Regions from separate parts of the Homo sapiens genome. Here all the other regions are linked to region 5. The links are contacts of gene promoters, found by promoter capture Hi-C in blood cells and fetal thymus (Javierre and others, 2016). All regions are on one chromosome and are shown on one strand. Each heading gives the region's core, a stretch centred on a gene start or on the middle of the fragment in contact. The rest is flanking DNA. Distances are from core to core; before and after follow the strand shown. Region 1 has its middle 11 kb from the start of PCCB. Region 2 overlaps PCCB (propionyl-CoA carboxylase subunit beta). Region 3 has its middle 14 kb from the start of MSL2. Region 4 overlaps PCCB (propionyl-CoA carboxylase subunit beta). Region 5 holds the start of SLC35G2 (solute carrier family 35 member G2).

Region 1 (2,737 bases), core at 152-2,651, 580 kb before region 5:
ACATTGGCCCAGTAGAGGGTGTGGCATACATAGATAACTGTCAACTAAAAATTTGTAATCCTTCTTCTGCTGTGTGGAGTTGCTACTGGAAAGTGGCTGGCCAGCCAGGGAGTACATTGTCATCCTTGCCCTTGCGTCCAGGTGGAGGTGGGGTCTTTAATAAACAGGGCTTCCCTTCCACTTGTCTTCTTCCCCATTCTCCAGTTGAATACAGACAAATCTAGGGATGATGAACCCACAAGACAGAAGAAGCCTGGGTCCTTAAATCACCGCAAGGGGGAAAGCTGCCCACCGTGTGGAAGAATAGCTACACTAGAATGTCAGGGTAAACAACAAGCTTCTATTATGTTAAGTAACTTAAACCTTGGGGTTTGTTACAGTTGCTAGCATTATTTTAAGCAATATAGAGATCATTTGTCCTTTTCTAAGATCTTTCTCATGCTGGGGTGTGAGCATGTTACTCAGTCTCTGCCAATTTGATGTTCCCACTCAATATTATAAGTGGGGGAGCCCACTATGCAAAGATACGCAATAGTATGAAAACTATTCACAGTGGCCTTGCAAATCCAGAAGCAGTCACAGCAAGGTCTGTCAATAGTGGTATCTAGGTCAATGTCCACTGTTCTTGTGGCATGAGCTTAGCTGTGTTTTTCTGCTTCTAGATTATCTTGCTTTTTGACTCTTTTCTATCCCCCTTGATAATTCCTTCCTTCCAATAATTCATTTTCTTCTTTAGGTATCCAGGATCAGTTCTCATGTACATTGTCTTTCCCATCTATTCTGGATTCTCTTTCCAAACTAGAGTGGGATTATCACTTTTTTTTTTTTTTTTTTGAGACGGAGTCTTGTTCTGTTGCCAGGCTGGAGTGCAGTGGCACCATCTCAGCCCACTGCAACCTCCGCCTCCCGGGTTCAAGCAATTCTCCTGCCTCAGCCTCCCGAGTAGCTGGGACTACAGGCATATGCCACCACTCCCAGCTAGTTTTTTATTTTTATTTTTATTTTTATTTTAGTAGAGATAGGGTTTCACCATATTGCCCAGGCTGGTCTCGAACTCCTGAGCTCAGGCAATCCACCCGCCTTGGCCTCCCAAAGTGCTAGGATTACAGGCGTGAGCCACTGCGCCCTGCCGGGATTTTTACTTATTAAACATCTATTGCATACCGTGTACTCTACATATGTTTTCTCACTTAATTTAATCCCTCCAACTATTCTATAGGGTCAATATTATTATCATGATTTTATAAGTGAAAAAACTGTAGCTGAAAGAGATGAACTGATTTGCCTAGTTACACTGCTTGTTAGTATCATTTGGAATCCAGTTTTACAGCACCAAAGCATGCTTTCCATCCTACCAGAAACCCTTCACTAGCTCATAATGAGGGCAATCCTCTCCAGCGCCCTTTCTAGCCTATAAATTGTTCTGGAAGTGAGGAATGCATCAATATTTACTTAATCCTTTCTTACATACAAAAGGGGTTATAAGGAAAGTTCTGTTGTTGCAGCTGTTTTCTAAGCCTTCAAACAATATTGTTTTTCTTTTCACTTTTTCTTTTCCTTCCCTCCCCTGCTTCTGTCTGTCTTTCCAAAACAACAAACTAAGGGTAACTGCAGAAGGTACAGTGGTGGCACCGCTTCATTTAGTTCTCTTGCTGACTTTCCTTAGACTGCACTGCAGTCTAAGAATGCTTCTTCCCAACCTTCCCTCTTTCTCTCATTCACTCAGGATCACACTTACATCAATCATAGGGTTGAAATTTTGAGCGAGTTGGATGGGAAGAACCATATCCTAATAAAAAGTAATGATCTTTATTACTTTTTTTTTTTTTTTTGAGACGGAGTCTTGCTCTGTCTCCCAGGTTGGAGTGCAGTGGCGTAATCTTGGCTCACTGCAATCTCTACCTCCCAGCTCAAGCCATTCTGCCTCAGCCTTCTGAGTAGCTGGGATTACAGGCGCGTACCACCATGCCCAGTTAATTTTTGTACTTTTAGTAGAGACGGAGTTTCACCGTGTTGGCTAGGCTGGTCTTGAACACCTGATCTCAAATGATCCGTCTGCCTCCGAAAGTGCTGGAATAACAGGCATGAGCCACCGCACCCAGCCTTGAAAATACATATGTCAGGTAGGAAGATAAAACCTATTTTATTTAAAAGTTTGTGTATTAAAAGACATGGTCAAAAGAATGCAAAGGGCTGGGTGTGGTGGCAATCTTTATTACTTTTGATGTTCCCCAGTGAGTATATCTTAAATGTCAACACCACCCGTAGGAAACTAGATAGGTTTCCCATGGTTCATGGGAAAGAAGCTGGCTCTAGTAATGGAGCTGAGCGTCAGATAATCCCCTCTTCACAGAGAAACTAGAGTAGCAAGAGAGAAAGTTCTTTCAATGACTGAATACCCCATGTATCTGGAACCACTGGGTACTGGAAACACAGAAATAAAAATGATAGAGTCCTTATCCAAAATAAGCTTATAATCTCATGGGGAGTCATATATGAATAGCTAATTTGTTTCCAGTTTCTAGATGTTAACCTCAATTGCTTTAGAACAGCATAATTCATACCAAAAGCTCAAAATCACCCATTATAATAAAAATAATTGTGAAAGTATCATAACTCATATAGTCTTTTAGAAATGCAGGAGGAATTATAAAAGAAAAAGAAGAAGAGAGGCCACTAATTAAAACAAACATTTCTTAATCTAGTGCCATGACTCTTGCCTTAGAATTTTCTAAGC
Region 2 (2,700 bases), core at 13-2,512, 560 kb before region 5:
GGAGCTGGGAGCAGTAGGGACCCTCGTGAGGTGAGGTGTGCTTCTGTAGGTCTCCCTAGAAAAAACCTGTGTCAGATCCTTCACTAAGCCTGCTTTAGTTTCCACCACCTGCTTCTGCATTCTTTTTATGGCTCCTTAGGTCTCCAGTAAGTATTTGTGGAACTAATTAATTGTGTTCCAGGGTCAGGTTCTCCTTATCCCCACTTCTCTCTACCTTTTCCTCGTCCTATTTCCTTATTCATCTTCCACAGTTGGGTGGCTTCTGGCGCACACTGTCTGTCCTGATTTCCATGTCATCTAAAGTCTACTAATAACACCTATCTGCCTTGGGCAGGTTGGATAGAATGAAAGTACTTGCATTGAGATCAACGGGCAAATCTGCCCTTCAAGCCCTCCCATGAACAGCCCTTGCTTTGCTTACTAAATTGTCTGTGATGACATCACTGAGTGATCTTTGTTCCATTGTAGGGAAAGCTAACAGCCAGGGAGAGGATCAGTCTCTTGCTGGACCCTGGCAGCTTTGTTGAGAGCGACATGTTTGTGGAACACAGATGTGCAGATTTTGGAATGGCTGCTGATAAGAATAAGGTATTTGTTCAAATGGTGGTGTGAACACTTTTTAGGTGTGGCTCAGCTGGCCTACCCACTAGAATAATAATAAATCTATAAGGCTTTTATCTGAAGTCCTCTGCAGAGGCACTGCAGACATCAAGCCCAGATAATTTTTGTATTTTTAGTAGAGATGGGCTTTCGCCATGTTGGTCAGGCTGGCCTTGAACTCCTGGCTTCAAGCAATCCACCCACCTCGGACTCCCAAAGTGTTGGGACTACAGGCGTGAGCGACCGTACCCTGCCTTGTGTTTCTTTATACGTCCTCCTTCATGTAAGCATAGAGAAGTGGTGGCCCTGGGTCTTGATTGTTTTGCTTTTAGGAGGGTACATAAGGCCTAAGATGACAGTGCCATTCACTCCTATTGATGAAGTAGTAGCCCTGTGCTTGCTGTTGTAGAGCTGGGAAAGTGGGGTGGGATTCCTTCATGTTCCTTGTTCATATTGACGTTTTAGGAATTTGGGTTTTGTTTTTGTCTTTCATTGAGGCATAGTGGCCAAACTCATTAGAAGAAGTATTTGGATTTTTTAACCTTTATTTTTGCATTTTTCTGGTAGTTTCCTGGAGACAGCGTGGTCACTGGACGAGGCCGAATCAATGGAAGATTGGTTTATGTCTTCAGTCAGGTATTTCATAACTCCAATAGTCTGAACTTTTCTTGGAGGGCAGAGCCAAGAGGAAAATATGTGAAAGAAGCCAATCTTGGGGAATGAAAACTTGCTTGTAGTTTGGGGAAAATGAGGGATTTGCTTTGCTTTTCAGTGCGTGTTTCCAGAATATTGTGTGTTTTTTACTTAGGAAGAGTCCTTAGTCTGTTTTGGGGGGGATCACAGGGCACTAGCCTTGTACAAAGGTATCCCAAGAACCAGGAATTTATTCCAAGTGAATGAGATTCCTCTTAGCTGGGTTGGGTGTGTGCCTGTAGGGCATCTGTGTCCTGGGCAGTGTATGTGGACTAGAGAGAGTGCAGTGGGTGCAGCCTCGCAAAGGGGACTTGACTCTCAGAACCAGAGTCCCCCTGAGCTTTGGGCTTTCATGAATATGTTCAGAAAATTTTATCAGGGTGCATCAAGACAGATACAGTTTGTTCACACACATAGCCAAAGCTATCAATATGTTATTTTACACGCAAAAGGGAATGAAGGTTGTTAATCAGCTGGCCTTGCAATAGGGAGAGTAGCCTGATTTATCCAGGTGGGCCCAATATAATCACAGGGTCCTTAAAAGTGGAAGAGGGAGGTAGAAGAGGAGCTTATAAGGATGTGATATGAGAAGGACATGATCTGCAGTACCTGGCTTTGAAGATGGGAGAAGGGGACCATCAGCAAAGGAGTGCCCATGGTCTCTAGGAGCTGGTAAAGGCAAGAAAACACATTTTCCCCTGGAGCCTCCAGAAGGGAGCACAGTCCTGCCAACCTTAATTTTAGCCCAGTCAATCCTGTGTAGCGCTTCTAAATTATAGAACTATAAGATAATACATTTGTGTTGTTTCAAGGCACTGAATTTATATTAATTTGTTATAGCGGTAATAGAAAACTAACACAGAATATGTTGTGTACTATTTTGGATTTGACTTTTTTCTCTCCAGAGGTGGAAATATGTATATAATTTAAAATGCTTAGGTCTTTTTACAGACCTAAAGTTTGATATTAAAATTGGCTAGGCGTGGTGGCTCATGCCTGTAGTCCCAGTACTTTGGGAGGCTGAGATGGGTGGATCACCTGAGGTCAGGAGTTTGAGACCAGCTGGCCAACATGGCGAAACTCCATCTCTACTAAAAACACAAAAATTAGCTGGGTGTTGTGGGTGCCTGTAATCCCAGCTACTTGGGAGGCTGAGGCAGGAGAATCGCTTGAACCTGGGAGGCGGAGGTTGCAGTGAGCCGAGTTTGCGCCACTGCACTCGAGCCTGGGTGGCAGAGTGAGACTCCATCTCAAACAAAAAAATAATAAAATAGTTATACTTGGTTAATTTAAAATCTGTCGTAGTTAGTATGCATTTACCAATTAAATTACCTTTGAAATGTTTTAAAACTGTTATAAATTGGTCTACCAAATGCCGAAATAGAAGGAATCACATTTGTTTTGTGC
Region 3 (2,700 bases), core at 3-2,502, 610 kb before region 5:
GGAAAAATTATTCAAGTTCTCTGAGCCTTAGTTTTCTTATCTATAAAATGGAGATAATAATAATACCTTGAAGCTGGGCACAGTGGCTCATACCTATAATGCCAGTACTTTGGGAGGCCGAGGTGAGTGGATCACTTGAGTCCAGGAGTTCAAGACCAGCCCAGGCAACATGGTGAAACCCCATTTCTACTAAAAATACAAAAATTGGCCAGGTGTGGTGGCAGGCACCTGTAATCCCAGCTACTTGGGAGGCTGAGGCAGGAAAATCGCTTGAACCTGGGAGGCGGAGGCTGCAGTGAGTCGAGATTGTGCTGTTGTACTCCAGCCTGGGCAACAAGAGCGAAACTCGGTCTCAAAAAAAAAAAAATTATCTGGGCGTGGTGGCACAAACTTAGGAGGCTGAGGTGGGAGGATCATCTGAGCCTGAGAGGTCAAGGCTGCAGTGAGCCATGATCATGCCACTGAGCTGAAGCCTGGGCAACTGAGTGAGATCCTGTCTAAAATAAAAATTAAATATATTAACTCATTTAATATGCTCAACAACACTATGAAGTAAGTACTATTATTATTATCCCCATTTCACACATGAGGAAACTGAGGCACATAGGTCTAATAATTTGTTCAAGGTCACACAGCTAACATAAGGTAAGAATTGAATCCAGGCAGTCTGGTTCCAGAATCGCTACTCTTAACACTATTCTATAAATTCACAAAGGGAGGGAACTCAGTAGGAAAAATAGGTTTGGAGGGAAATTATGAATATAGGTTTTGGACAGGTACAGTGTGAAGTGGCTATGGGACATCCAAATTAAATGTCCAATAGGCAGTTGGATAAATGAATCTGGCATCCTGGGTATAGGGGTGAGGGATTTGATTTGAAGGTATAGACTTGGGAGTCAGCAGCATATGGCAATAGAAACTATGGGAGTGATAGAAATTACCCAGGAGGAGTAAGAAGAGAAGAATGCTAAGAATGAAGTTGTGATGACCACCAATATTTAAACAAAGTGCAGAGGGAAAGGATCCCACAAAAGAGAATCAGAAGGAGAGGTAGGCAGCAAACTGGAAAGATGTTTCATTTTCAGTGAGGTAATGTGTGTAAATAATTTAGCATAATAACCAGCAGACAATAGGCATCCCAAATGGTAACTTCTTTTACCATTAAAGTCTCATTTGAAGGTTATAGTCCTTAACTGTGCTGTGGGGCTTTCCTGAACCTTTTCCACATCCCCACATTGTTTTTTTTTGTTTTTGTTTTTGTTTTTTTAGATGAAGTCTTGCTCTGTCGCCAGGCTGGAGTGCAGGGGCGCAATCTCGGCTCACTCCAACCTCCACATCCCGGGTTCAAGCAATTCTCCTGCCTCAGCCTCCAGAGTAGCTGGGATTACAGGCACATGCCACCATGCCCAGCTAACTTTTGTATTTTTGGTAGAGACAGGGTTTCACCATGTTGGCCAGGCTGGTCTCGAGCTCCTGACCCCAGGTGATCTACCCACCTTGGCCTCCCAAAGTGTTGGGATTACAGGCATGAGCCACCGTGCCCGGCTGCCTTCCAATTCTTAGCAGAGGACTTTACCTCTTTCTTTACCTCCAAGGAGAAAATAAAGATCTCCTTCTTTTCTACATCAAAATATTCCACAATTCCCCTTCCTGTCATTCTTTTCTCTGTTTCTGGTTTCCTCCAGGAATTTGCTCCATGGTTTTCCCAAGTCCTACTTCTTCAGCATCCGGTGGTATAGTGGTGAGCATAGAAACTTTCCAGGTCTTAACGTCTTCAGCCTTCTGTCCCTCACTACTATCTTCCCCAGTTCTGCCCAGCTATGCTGTATGCTCCCAAATCCATCTTTCAGTCCACATCTGTCCTGTTTTGTGATCTGTCAATCTTTTGCAAGAATTAAACCTTATTTTGATTTTTAATTAACTATTTCTTAGTCTCTTAAAATCAGATTTCTCTCCCCACAACTCTACTGAAACGATATTCTTCAAAACTACAGAGGAACTGGGCATAGTGGAGCTTGGCGGTGGGTGGCGCAACCTCCCAGCACTTTGGGAGGTCAAGGTGGGTGGATCCCTTGAGCCCAGGAGTTCGAGACCAGCCTGGGCAACATGGCAAAACCCTGCCTCAGTTTAAAAAAATAAAAATAAACCACAGAAGGCCCCCAGTGTTTGACTTTTTAAAATTATCCAATGACTATTTTGAACATTGCTGTATTAAATTGCCCTTTCTTGTCCCTATGTTATGTCTTGGGCAGATTCCATAACTTTGGTTATTTTTAGTTAATAAAATATAGTCTAATTTAAAACTTTGAATCAGAATTGGATTTAGCCGAAATCAGAGAGAACCTAAAATAACAATGCTAAAGCAAAATAGAAATTGGCTTATTCTATGTAAAAAAGAAAGTCTGGAAGAAAGCCATGCACAGTTAGTATGGCAGTTCCACTGTTATCAGGGATCCAGGCTCTGTCTTCATACTCTACCATCCAAATATATACCTTCTACCTTCAAGGTTATCTAATAGTCCAAGATGGCTCCTGAAGCTTCAGCATTTCACATTTCAACTAACAGCAAGGCAAAACGGGAACACAAGGGCCCACCTCCCAGCTGAGTCAGCACCTTCTAACCAGCCTCCAGTTTTAAGCAGCCCACATAACACTTTTCTTACATTTCTTTGGCCATAATTTAGTCACATTGCCATGCTC
Region 4 (2,700 bases), core at 195-2,694, 540 kb before region 5:
AGAATAGAGTGCAGTGGCATGATCATGGCTCATTGCAGCATTGACCTTATAGGATCAAGCAGTCTTCCTACCTTGGCCTTCTGAGTAGCTAGTAGAACACCACTATGCCCGACCAACCAAAAAAACTTTCTGTAGAGATCAGGGCTCACTATATCGTCCAGGCTGGTCTCAAACTCTTGGCCTCAAGTGGTCCTCCTGCCTCATTCTCCCAAAGTGCTGGGATTACAGGTGTGAGCCAGCGCACCTGACTTTTCAGTACTTTAAATATGTCCCACTGCCTTCCGGCCTCCATGGTTAATCTTGCTGAGGATCAGTTGCATGGGATCAGTTGCTTCTATCTTGCTGCTTTCAAGTTTCTCTTATTGTGTTTTGACAGTTTGACTATAATATGTCTCCGTGTAGATCTCTTTGAGTTCATACTGCTTGGAGTTTGTTGAGCTTCTTGGGTATGTATACTTATGTCTTTCATCAAATGTGGGAAGTTTTCAGTCATTATTTCTTCAAATCTTTGACCCTTTCTTTCTGTTCTTCTGAGATTCCTATAATGTGTATATTGGTATGTTTGGTTTCCCACAGGTCCCTCAGGCTCTATTAATTTCTCCTTTTCTTTTTTCTGGTTCCTTATACTAGATTATTTTGTTTTGTATTCCAGTTTCCTGATCCTTTTTTCTGCTTGCTTAAGTCTGCTGTTGAACCCCTGAAATGAATTTTTCATTTCAGTTATTGTCAACTCCAGGCTTTCTGCTTGGTTCCTTTTCATAATTTCTGTCTCTTTGTGGTGTTCTCATTTTGTTCAGACATTGATTTCCTGATTTCCTGTAGTTTTTTCCCCCCACAGCTTTCTTTAGCTCATTGAACATATTTAAGACAGTTCATGTGCCATCTTTGACTATTAAGTCCAATATCTGGGTTTCTTCAGAGATGATTTTTGTTAAATTATTTTTTTCTTGTGAATGGGCCATACTTGCTTATTTCTTTGTATGATTTGTGATTTTTGTTGAGGATGAGAAATTCTGAATATTATGTTTGGAAGTTTGGAAGTCTAGTTCTCCTACTTTTCAGGAATAGCCGATTTTTGCTTGTCAACTGCTGGGTCCATCTGTTTGAACTTTTGCAAGCTGTTTTTGCAAAGAGTATGTTCCTTTTTTAATATGGACATTGAAATTTTAGTTCTCTTATCACTGTGTTTAACCAGCAATCTGACAGTAATTTCCTTAAATGTCTGTCTCCCAGAAGTGTGGAGGGGTGTGGAACAAACTACCTTTTTAAATCCCTTGTGGCTGGGAAGCTGCTTGAGCCAATCAGGGTTGAAACAATGCCAGCCTCTATGCTTAGCCCCTCAGCCATCAAAAGCAGTGGTCAGTAATCAGAACATACAACCTTGATTTTTCAAGGTTGAAAAACCAAGATGCAAAGGTTCTAATTTCCCAATCTGGCACCAACTAGCTACACTAGGAACATCCTCGTGGCTACCTGCCATGGGTTGTTGGCTGGGGGATTATAGCAGCCATGTTATTAATAAATGTGAAGTTTACTGAAATTTACTTGCTGTTTTATCAAATTCTCCTCTGGGCCCTGAAGTGTTTGAGTAGACTCCAGAGTTCAAAAATAGTTGCTTTAGACAGCTGAATAGTTGTTTTGATCTCAGATATTCTTGGAGCTTCCTGTTCTCTCTTCTGTGATGTCACTCAGTTTTTTTATGGTAAGCATATAGTTTTAGTGTACCATTTTAATTTCTAGTGTTTTTTAGCTGTATTTTTTGAGTTATTTTTAGTAGTTGCTCTAAGGGTTACTATATATCTCTTAATTTATCACAGTCTGCTTCAAATTAATACTGACTTAATTCTGGTAAGACAGGAACTTTGCTCCAATGTAGCTCCATTTTCTCCCCCTTCATTTGTGCTTTTATTGTTATGTAATACTCAAAACAGTGTTAATTATTGCTTTATACAGTCTTGTTTTTCAAAGTATTAAGAAAAGAGAACTATACTTATGCAGTGTTTATAATCACATATTTATCATTTTCAGCACTCTTAATTGGTTCTTGTGGATTTGAATTATAGTCTGGTGTTATTTTCTTTCATCCAGTAGGACATTTTGAGCTGGTATGGGCAATGGTGGCAGCCTTGGTTAAGAATGCCACAGGCTTTCACTGTTCTTATCTCAAGTTTAGTAGTTTTTCATGAATAAACACTTCTCAATTTGTTACATTTGGCTCATTTTTAGAACCCCAAAATACTCGTTTTTGACAATGCTGTCCAGTTGTTTTTGGGGAGAGAATTTTCTGAACTCTTCACTCTGCCACAGCTGGAAGTCTCCCCTACTACCTTGATATCTTTGCAGAAAGCATAGATTACATTTTGCACTGTCCTTAGCTGTGTATAGATTGGGCTTAGAGCCAAGGCAGGCTGAAAAGTGAACCTACTTTTCCTAAGCTGATGGGACTTAGGAGAAGGAAAGAATTTGGAAGTAGGGCAAAGAATAATTGGGCCTTTTATCATCTTGCCTGGGTCTTTTGAGCCCCCACATCCTATCTTTCCTGAGGCTTAGTCCTTCACAACACAGTGTCCTTATGGAGGCTTTCTGGCTCCTTCTACCGCCTTCTCTCCTGCATTCCTTGTCTGGGGATGGGCAGAGTAGACACTGGGTACTCAGTGTCAAGAAGCACCTGCTTGTACCCTTGCGTGCCTTCTGTGGAGG
Region 5 (2,754 bases), core at 139-2,638:
CCCAGCTGTAGTTGGGAGAGCACCAGCACTTGCTCTATAAAGATCTAGATTGTCTCTCTACCTCAAGAGGAATCCAAAATCCTGTTATGCTGGACTCTGAAATGATCCCCAGCCCTTTGGTGATCACACTGTTTATGAGCAGTCTGAATTCCATTCTTGGGTCTACCTAAACTAGCACCCTCGGGCTATGGGGCCCAGTGGGGAGACCACCTAGCATGCTGGCTGCCTGGAGCCCAGGGAACTGTCAAGATGGCTCTGGAAGACTTCTCGCCTTTTAAAAGCCCCGTATTTCTTTTACATATATTTTTGTCCTCATGAATTTTGCCAACCGCAATGGACTAAAATCTATTATAGCGTCCTGGAAAGGTGGGGAAAAGATGGGATAGTTGAGGAGAGTTTAATGAAGGGACTATTTAAAAAGGTGTGGATGGGGTTAAAGGAAACCTCTGGGCGTCATTACCCACTCCAGGCCTGAAGGGGCAAGGGTAGTTAGTGGTAACCAGAACCTGGAGAAAACTGCAGGAGAGGGCCACAGGATGGGAGTAATGGCTTTCAGATGAAGAACATAGCCACTGCTAACAGGGTGGCCCGCTGGGGATGCAGGGGAGGTCCTGAATCACATCCTGCCTTCTGATCTGCAGGTGCCTCCCACTTGCCAAAACCAATTGAAAGCCAGATTATAGTTGACGTAGCCCATAAAGGTCAGTCCTGAGTCACAGAGCAGAGTGGAGAGTGGGTCTGAAGGGACAGAGGAAAAACCAGCAAGCACCTCCTGTTTTTTCCCACAGCCAGCACCTTGGTTCAGCCCTTACCCTTTCTTGCCTGTCCCCTGGACCCATCAAATCCACTGCTTTTAATGACCAGTCTGTTTCCAAGAGGCTATATTCATTCCACTTGGGACTGGGGCATATGCACTTGGGTAGAAGAACCAGCTGTGCAGTGTCAAGACCCTTCCCTCAGAGACCTTATCAGTAAAATGGCGGGTGGACTCGGGGATGCCCGAAGACTTTTCCGGACCACGATTTTCCGATGCTGGACACATATTTAAACATGAAGGAATAGACTTGCGACTTTTAAGCGCAAACAATGGGTGGAAATGGACAGAAACTGCCTCCGTGCCCACTTGCAGCGGACTACGTAGCCCTGGCAGACAGGCAATTGCTTCAAACAAGCGCCCTCCAAGGGCGTAAGCTAGAGGGGCCCGGGCGGGCGCTTTCCCGTGGACCCTCCCACCTCGCGGGTAGAGGAAGTCCTTCAGTTCAGGCACAACCCTGAGCGTCCCCCGCAGTCTCCAACTCCGGCGCCAGTCAGGTTGTGGGGTGGGGGCGGCGGAGGGCGGAGAGCGCAGGCGCAGAGTCCGCGCGGCGGCGCCCCTCTCCCTCCGCAGTACTCCGGGCAGCGCCCGCCTCGATTTTCCCAGGCGAGGGCACGCCCGCGTCAGTCGCCTCCGGGGCACCTTCCTCGCCACGACACGCAGGTAACCGGGCCCCGGGAGCCGGTCGGCGGCGGCGGACTGGGACCTTGATCCTGCCTGCCCGGCCGCCCGACAAGGGAATGAGAGCGGACCCCGAACTCCACACACCCGCGTTTAGCCGCCACACCTAAGGGGCACAACAGTCTTTTTGGGTAAGGGCCGGGCTGGGGGCGACGCGCCCCGCCCGCTTTGCAGACTTCGGGGTGCTCTGCACGACGCCTGAAAGGCCGCGGGGCCCGCATTTCTCTGTGCTGCCCTCCTGGAGAACCGGGACACGGGGACGGGAGGGCCAGCATCGGCTACGGCCCGGTTTCCCGTTTCTTTCCGCTGTCGCGTGTCTGGGCCCTCCTGCAGCGTCCATGATGAAGGCCAGGGGCTGTTGCTTTCCTCTCGCCCAGTAGCCAACCCAAGCAAGGGGTGAGTCACTGTGGCGTCATATGGGATCAATTTCAAATACAAGTTTTAAAAAAGGCTGGATGATTTTAGAAATATGGCCAAGAATTTGTATTTTCCATTACTCTCTTGTCTCATGTCCATGACTCTTGAACGCCAGTCTGTGGGCGCTGAGATTTTCGTGGTACATCGACGGTTTGTAGACATCTTTTCCCAAGGGAAGACGAGGGCAAGGGTTAGTGGAGGAAGGGCCTCGTCACGGCCGAGAGTGGCGGAGAAGGCTCAGGGCAAGTCCGCACAGCCTCCAGCAGCCACGGGGAGGAAAAGGCGAATCTTTCCTCACAGTGCTCTGGGCGCTGTAGAATTTCTACGCCACGTGCACCCATTTGGCCTCATTTGAGAGGAGGAGAGGGAAGAAGGGTCGCGCGGGCCGGCAGGAAAGAGACTCGTGTTGCGGCGGATGAAGGCTCAGCGCGGACCTGCATCTCGGGCCAGGTTTTCTTTCACCCGGCTCCGCGAGGAGCGAGGCGGAAAGCTCGGGTCCGAGTGTTGATCGAGGACCTGGAGATAGTAACCCCCCACGTCCAGAGTGCTGGGGGTGGGTCCAGAGGGCTGGGGGTAGGTCCAGAGGGCTGGGGGTAGCTCCGGAGGAGCGATCTTCCTCCGCGGGAAAGGACTTGGCTCAGGCTTGCCTATGTCCGTGGTGCTGAAGTGCCTCGCGCGCCCTCGTCGACTGACTTCCTGGGCCGCGGCCTGCGTTGCCCTTCTACTCTGCACCTTTGCCAAAAATAGCCCATCTCCATGGCTGGTGGCCAGAGTGGAGCAGGCCCAACACTGAAACTCTTTTCAGACAAGTTGAGGCTGGTTTCCTGAACATAACCCGAAAG

What was found. Contacts are between HindIII fragments. The CHiCAGO score rates a contact against its expected background, and 5 or more counts as called.
Region 1: a contact is called between a fragment that was not itself captured here and the fragment with the promoter of SLC35G2 in region 5, in 4 of 17 cell types (neutrophils, total CD4 T cells, fetal thymus and 1 more). The highest score is 6.3, in neutrophils.
Region 2: a fragment that was not itself captured here is called in contact with the fragment with the promoter of SLC35G2 in region 5 in 1 of 17 cell types (neutrophils); the score reaches 6.0 in neutrophils.
Region 3: a fragment that was not itself captured here is called in contact with the fragment with the promoter of SLC35G2 in region 5 in 1 of 17 cell types (fetal thymus); the score reaches 5.1 in fetal thymus.
Region 4: a contact is called between a fragment that was not itself captured here and the fragment with the promoter of SLC35G2 in region 5, in 1 of 17 cell types (neutrophils). The highest score is 7.1, in neutrophils.

Annotation. Positions count from the first base shown.
Region 1 is chr3:136,237,863-136,240,599 of GRCh38, forward strand. No RefSeq gene overlaps it. Among named protein-coding and RNA genes, the nearest start is that of PCCB, 11 kb to the right of the region's middle. The HindIII fragment of the contact is 2,133 bases long and covers 336-2,468 here.
Region 2 is chr3:136,255,388-136,258,087 of GRCh38, forward strand. PCCB (propionyl-CoA carboxylase subunit beta) reads left to right here. Exons shown (of 15, transcript NM_000532.5): 2 at 469-588; 3 at 1,168-1,236. Among named protein-coding and RNA genes, the nearest start is that of PCCB, 6.4 kb to the left of the region's middle. The HindIII fragment of the contact is 3,549 bases long and covers 1-2,700 here.
Region 3 is chr3:136,209,151-136,211,850 of GRCh38, forward strand. No RefSeq gene overlaps it. Among named protein-coding and RNA genes, the nearest start is that of MSL2, 14 kb to the left of the region's middle. The HindIII fragment of the contact is 2,568 bases long and covers 1-2,536 here.
Region 4 is chr3:136,280,704-136,283,403 of GRCh38, forward strand. All of the region lies in intron 5 of PCCB (propionyl-CoA carboxylase subunit beta), which reads left to right. Among named protein-coding and RNA genes, the nearest start is that of PCCB, 32 kb to the left of the region's middle. The HindIII fragment of the contact is 8,625 bases long and covers 1-2,700 here.
Region 5 is chr3:136,817,738-136,820,491 of GRCh38, forward strand. SLC35G2 (solute carrier family 35 member G2) reads left to right here and starts at 1,389. Exons shown (of 2, transcript NM_025246.3): 1 at 1,389-1,891. RefSeq lists silencers at 1,414-1,473, 2,537-2,586. The HindIII fragment of the contact is 16,057 bases long and covers 1-2,754 here.